Regions from separate parts of the Homo sapiens genome. Here region 1 is linked to region 2. Evidence: promoter capture Hi-C in human tissues and cell types (Jung and others, 2019). All regions are on one chromosome and are shown on one strand. Each heading gives the region's core, a stretch centred on a gene start or on the middle of the fragment in contact. The rest is flanking DNA. Distances are from core to core; before and after follow the strand shown. Region 1 overlaps ENTHD1 (ENTH domain containing 1). Region 2 holds the start of APOBEC3B (apolipoprotein B mRNA editing enzyme catalytic subunit 3B).

Region 1 (3,341 bases), core at 749-3,248, 880 kb after region 2:
GTGGGGCTGGGCGCAGTGGCTCATGACTGTAATCCCAGCACTTTGGGAGGCTGAGGCAGGCAGATCATCTGAGGTCAGGAGTTCGAGACCACCCTGACCAACATGAAGGAACCCCGTCTCTACTTAAAATACAAAATTAGCCAGGCGTGATGGCGTATGCCTGTAATCCCAGCTACTCTGGAAGGCTGAGGCAGGAGAATCGCCTGAACCCTGGAGGCAGAGGTTGCAGTGAGCCGAGATGGTGCCATTGCTCTCCAGCCTGGACAGCAAGAGTGAAACTCCGTCTCAAAAAAAAAAAAAAAAAAAAAAAAAAAAGCAATCTGTGACTACAAAACAATAAACTAGAATTTCTTGCATGAATCATAAAATCAGAGTTGGGTTACTTCTGTATCAATTTAGGGATTCATTTCTTAAGCTTACGATTCACCAGGCCAAGTTTGCTCCAGTTTCAGAGCATCTACCCTGCTGTTCCCTCTGCCTGATATACAGGCACACCTTGAAGATACTGCGGTGGGCTGGGTTCCAGATTACTGCAATAAAGCAAATATTCCAATAAAGCCACTCACACAAACATTTTTGTTTCCCAGTGCATATAAAAGTTATGTTTACATTAGACTGCAGTCTACTTAGTAGACTAAGTATGCAATACCATGCTGCCTAAAAAATATATATACATAATTAAATAATACTTTATTGCTAATTTAAAAAGGCTAACAATCATCTGAGCCTTCAGCGAGTCTTCATCTTTTTGCTGGTGGAGGGTCTTGTCTCCATGTTGAGGGCTGCTGATAGATCAGGGTGGTTGCTGCTGAAGGTTGGGAAAGCTGTGGCAATTTTTTAAAGTAAGACAACAATAAAGCCTGCAACATCAACTGACTCTTCCTTTCACAAAAGATTTATCTGTAGCATGTGATGCTGTTTGATAGCATTTTACCCACAGTAGAACTTCTTTCAAAATTGGAGTCAATCCTCTCTAATCCTGCCACTGGTTTATTTACTAAGTTTATGTAATATTCTGAATTCTTTGTTGGCATTGCAACAATGTTCACAGCTTCTTCACAGGAGTAGATTTCAACTCAAGAAACCATTTTCTTTGCTCATCCATAAGAAGTATCTCCTCATCTGTTCAAGTTTGATCATGAGATTGCAGCAATCCAGTCACATCTTCAGGCTCCACTTCTAATTCTAGTTCTCTTGCTATTTCCGCCACATCTGCAGTTCCTTCCTCCACTGAAGTCTTGAACCCCTCAAAGTCATCCATAAGGGTTGGAATCCACTTCTTTCAAACTCCTGTTAATGTTGAAATTTTGGCTTCCTCCCATGAATCACAAATGTTCTTAATGGCATCTAGAGTGGTGAATCTTTTCCAGAAGGTTTTTAATTTACTTTGCTCAGATCCATCAGAGGAATCACTATCTATGGAAGATATAGCTTTATGAAATGTATTTCTTCAGTAATAAGACTTGAAAGTTGAAATCACTCCTTGATCCATGGGCTGAAGAATAAACACTGTGTTTTAGCAGGCACGAAAACAATATTAATCTCCTTGTACATCTCCATCAGAGCTCTTGGGTGACCAGGTGCACTGTCAATGAGCAGTAATATTTTTAAAGAAATCTTAAGGGCACTAGGATTTTGGGAATGGTAAAGGAGCAGTTGGCTTCAACTTAAAGTCACCAGTTGCATTAGTCCCTAACAAGAGAGTCAGCCTGTCCTTTGAAGCTTTGAAGCCAGGCATTGACTTCTCCTCTCTAGCTATGAGAGTCCTAGATGGCATCTTTTTCCAACAAAAGGCTATTTCACCCACATTGAAAATCTATTTAGTGTAGCCCCCTTCATCAATTACCTTAGCTAGATCTTCTGGATAACTTGCTACAGCTTCTCCATCAGTACTTGCTGCTTCACTTTGTACTTGTGTGTTATGGTGACAGTTGCTTTCCTTGAACCTCATGAACCCACCTCTGCTAGCTTCAAGATTTTCTTCTGCAGTTTCCTCTTCTCTCTCAGTCTTTGCAGAATTAAAGACAGTTAGAACCTTGCTCTGGATTAGGCTTTGGCTTAAGTGATAATGGGGCTAGTTGGATCTTCTATCCAGACCATGCAACCTTTCTCTATAACAGCAATAAAGCTGTTTCCCATTCTTATCATTCCCGTATTCATTGGAGCAGCACTTCTAATTTCCTTCCAGAACTTTTCCTTTACATTCATAACTTAGCTAACTGTTTGGCACAAGAGGCCTACCTTTCAGCCTGTTTCGGCTTTCAACATGCCTTTCTCACTAAGTTTAACCATTTCTAGCTTTTGAATTAAAGTGAGAAACCTGCGACTCTTCCTTACACTTGAACACTTAGAGGCCATTGTAGGGTTATTAATTGGCTTAATTTCAATATTGTTGACCCTCAGGGACTAGGGAGACCCAAGGAGAGAGAGAGAGATCGGGATCAGTGAAGCAGTCAGAACACACATGACATCTATCAGTAAGTTCACTGGTCTTCTACAGCCATGGTTTGTGGTACCCCAAAACAATTACAACAGTAACATCTAAGATCACTGATCATAGATCACCATGACACATATAATAATAAGGAAAAAGTTAAAAATATTGCAAGAACTACCAAAATGTGACACAGACACAAAGTATGCACATGCTATCAGAAAAATGGTGCCAATAAACTTCTTGGGTACAGGATTGCCACAAACCTTCAATTTGTAAAATATACGTTATCTGTGAAGTGTAATTAAGCAAAGTGCAATCGATCGAGGTATGCCTGTATGTGGGTTGCTCCCTCACTTCATTCAGGTCTGTTTGAAGATTCACTTCCTCCAAAAGGCCCTCTCTCATTACGTGACCTAAAATAAACCCACCCCTGTCACTCTGTTCCCTGACCCTGCTTTCCTTTTCTTTACAGGACTTGTTATTATCTGACATATTTTATGCTTGTGACAGAGACATCCCAGTCTCTACCACTAGAATGTTAGTTCCATGATAAAAGAAAACTTATTTTACTCACTCCTATAGTTCCAAATTTCTGCTGAATATCCAAATTTTAAATAAATTCAATAATTATGTGTTTACAATGAAAGAAGAAAGAACTGACAAAAGAAAGGAAGAAGGAAGAGTAAGAAAGGTAACATCGAAGAAGCAAAAGTGGGGAAGAAACTCTGGATGAGTCATAATTGGTTATTCTTCTCTGTTACTCTGTTTTTAGCATCAGTTTGATTTAAAGGCTCCCATGAGAAAATTTCAGAATGAGTGGCTGTCTCTTTCGGAGATTTATTTCAAAAGAATCAGATCCCCTAAAGATCCCACCACTTTTAGAAGCCGGTAGGTAGTATTTGCT
Region 2 (3,533 bases), core at 45-2,544:
TCCACCGATGGTCTTATCCTTTGTCCATCTCTTTCTGACGGCAACAGAAAACTTCACCTTCCAGAGGAGCGCCTCTGCCTGGCTGTCCCACCGTCTGGGAAGTAAGGAGCGCCTCTGCCCAGCCCCCGCACCGTCTGGGAAGTGAGGAGCGCCTCTGGACGGCCCCCGCACCGTCTGGGAAGTGAGGAGCGCTTCTGGACGGCTCCCAGCAACCCCCCAGGTGTGAAGTGACAGCCCTGTGTGTGATCTTTCTGCCCTCCCCAAGTTTGCATTTTCGACAATAAAATTTACTTTTAAATTAAAAGATTTATACTGGGGAAGATTTAAAAAAAAAAAAAGAAAGAAAAGAAAACTCACCTTCCAAAAACAACCACTGGGAGTCCGCTTTGTGCAGAGGTTGGACAAGCTTCTGTGCAGGTAGGGGCGCTGCTGCTCCCCCTACCACCCACGCATCCTCCTCCCTGTCTGCATTCCCGTCGTCGTAGCCAGAGGAGTTCAGAGCCTCTACAGAGAGCACAACTTCTCCAGCTGGAACAAACTCCCCTTAAAGGAATCTATTTAGGAAGATTATTTCAATGTACATTCATTCCTCCAAAATATGCTTAGATGGACTTAAATAATCAGAAAGCTGTGTGTGTATGTGTTTCCCGTTTTCTTGGCCCACAAAGAACCCCTTGAGAGGTCCCTGGGCAGTGAGCCTGTTTATAGACACCCTTCTCCCTTCCTTGGTGTCGCAGACATCGCAGTCCCTCTGAGGGGCTGACCTGCCCCCCACCTTCTGGAAGCTGGGAGGTTGGAAGAGGGGACGCATGCCATGGACCCAGCACACAGCTGGGAACTCGAGGCACACCTAAGCCTTCCCTTGTGCTGTGCGGAGTCCACACTTCCTTCCCCACTGGAGTCTCAAAACCTCCCCTCACTCAACAGGGTGGTGCTGCTCAAAGCTCTGGGCACACATTAGGGCTGGGGAGGGGGTGGTGGAGAGGGGGCTCCAGCCTGCCCAACCACCAGGCAACGGGGCACCTGCCCCTCTCTCAGCTGGGTCTGGACCCGCCTCCCAGGCTCAGGCTGCAATGCCTTTCTCTTTCTCTTTGCAATTCCGTTGGGTCCTGCCCAGGACAGATAAAGACAGAGCAGCCTGTCTTTATTGGAGGTTCCTCTGCCAGCGGGAAGGGTCCGGGGAAAACCAGAGCCAGAGCCAGAGCCAGAGAAACATGAAGCACCCCGGGGCCTCCCACACCAATGCCTGAGCAGGAATGGGGAGGGGCCATGACTCATAAGGCCCTGGGAGGTCACTTTAAGGAGGGCTGTCCAACTGCAAGGACGCTGTAAGCAGGAAGTGAAACCACAGAGCTTCAAAAAAAGAGCGGGACAGGGACAAGCGTATCTAAGAGGCTGAACATGAATCCACAGATCAGGTACCGCTGCCCACTCTGCCTGCTGGGCCCCTCCTGCCCCTTCCTGCCTGGTGGTCCTGCTGGGCCTCAACCCTGGCCTCCCCCCGCCCCTGCCCCAGCCCTGGGCTCCCTCCCCTCTGGCTCCCCTGCCACACGAATCCCAGTCAGGCTCTTTGTCCTGCTGTGTGGTCACCCCACTGCTGCTTCTGAATGGGCTGCCTCCCCTACCTGCACCAGCCCAGGCCCCGTGCTGAGACTCTCCCTTAAAGTCATGCCCGGACTGGTGCTCCCCGCCCTGGGAGGGTGCTCCCTCTGTGTGCTTCCTGCCACTCCTGAGCTCAGAAACTGGGAGAATTGAACCAAAGGGTAATTGGAGCAATCAGGCATTTTTGTTCTCAGTGTTTTGATGAAATTTCTGTAAGAATTACTTTGCTTAAATACAAAGTCTTAGGAGAGGGTGCGGGGGTAGGAATGGTCTCTGAAGCACATGATAAATCGTGTCATCCAAGGATGACTCCATGGTGAGCAGATGTCCCCAGACAGGTTCCACTCCAAGGTCACTCTTCATCTTTTAGAACATGACCAGTGGTTGAGCGTGGTGGCTCACACTTGTAATCCCAACACTTTGGGAGGCCAAGGCGGGCGGATCATGAGGTCGGGAGTTTGAGACCAACCTGGCCCATATGGTGAAACCCCGTCTCTACTAAAAAACATACAAAAATTAGCCAGGCATGGTGGCGCATCTCTAGTCCCAGATACTCAGGAGGTTTAGGCAGGAGAATTGCTTGAACCTGGGAGGTGGAGGTTGCAGTGAGCTGAGATCATGCCACTGCACTCCAGCCTGGGCGACAGAGTGAGACTTCATCAAAAAAAAAAAGAAAGAACATGATCAGTAACATGGAATGTGAGAATGTGGGAAAAAAGTGCAATGATGAGGAGAAATGCTCTGATTTTAAAATTTAGTGAAAAGAGAGCCCAGTCCCCAACAGCTTTCTCCTACAGGATCCGTGATGCAGAGGCTGGACAGGGCTGGCCTGGAAAGGGGCCCCTGCTCCATCCGTCCCCAGCTCTGTGGCCTCGGCAGGTTACCCCGCCTCTCTGTGCCTCTGGCATCTCCTCTGTAAGATGGGAATGGCCCCTGCAGGCCTAGGGTAGCCTCACGTGAGCTCACACCCGCTCAGCACTTAGAAGAGTGGCCTGGGCCTCAGAATTCAGTTCTACCATGATTTTAAAATAATGTTAACACGCAGAGTGAAACATCAGGAAGGAATTGAGCTGAAAGGTTAAAAGCTATTTTTTAGGGGTGAAGGGTTTTATTCTCTTTTGCATTCTCCTAATGGGTTGGGGAGTGGGTTGGCAGAAATACTAGGAGGGTGGGGAATGTACCCCTGGAAAGGCCAGAGTTGGACCCGAGCTGGGAGAGATCACCCCAGCCCGCCTGCCAGCATCCCCTCCTCTTCCTCTCCCCTCAGTCTTCCTGCCTGGGAAGGCAGCAGAAATTCTCAGGGCTGTGGAGGGGTCGGGGAGGCCCAGGGCCATCCTGGGAGCTGTGTTCAGTGGACATGAGCCCCGAGGACTCCCGGGAGGGCTCCCTGCATGGGCCGGTTTCTCTCTTGTGCCTTCAGAAATCCGATGGAGCGGATGTATCGAGACACATTCTACGACAACTTTGAAAACGAACCCATCCTCTATGGTCGGAGCTACACTTGGCTGTGCTATGAAGTGAAAATAAAGAGGGGCCGCTCAAATCTCCTTTGGGACACAGGGGTCTTTCGAGGCCAGGTACCACCCAAACTTCAATCGAATCACAGGCAGTGTTGCAGGAATTAGAGGACTGGAGAGACTGATATGGGTGAGACAGGAGGATTTATTTAGGTGCACTGGTTCAGCAGACTCACATCCAAAAAGGCTGAGCCCTTAACAAAGACAGACTGAGGTATTTATAAGCAAACTTACAGAAGCAGAACAAAGGCGATTAATCAAACAGTGACAGGTCACATAATCTATAGCATAACAGATGACTTAGCATAACTTGGGGCCTTCTATAGCTGGTGGCCTTGCAGCTACATCAAAAGGAAAACAGGAACTGGCTAAATACAGACATTTGTAAAATATAGTTATAATGGTTCTGGAAAG

Evidence for each region. The method cuts DNA at HindIII sites, captures the fragments that hold promoters and counts their contacts. A contact is called where the count stands out against the background at its distance.
Region 1: a contact is called between a fragment that was not itself captured here and the fragment with the promoter of APOBEC3B in region 2, in 1 of the 25 tissues and cell types used here (dorsolateral prefrontal cortex).

Annotation. Positions count from the first base shown.
Region 1 is chr22:39,857,157-39,860,497 of GRCh38, forward strand. All of the region lies in intron 3 of ENTHD1 (ENTH domain containing 1), which reads right to left. Among named protein-coding and RNA genes, the nearest start is that of ENTHD1, 35 kb to the right of the region's middle. The HindIII fragment of the contact is 4,117 bases long and covers 1-3,341 here.
Region 2 is chr22:38,981,053-38,984,585 of GRCh38, forward strand. APOBEC3B (apolipoprotein B mRNA editing enzyme catalytic subunit 3B) reads left to right here and starts at 1,295. Exons shown (of 8, transcript NM_004900.5): 1 at 1,295-1,418; 2 at 3,023-3,179. The coding sequence starts at 1,402. RefSeq lists a silencer at 1,429-1,478. The HindIII fragment of the contact is 18,696 bases long and covers 1-3,533 here.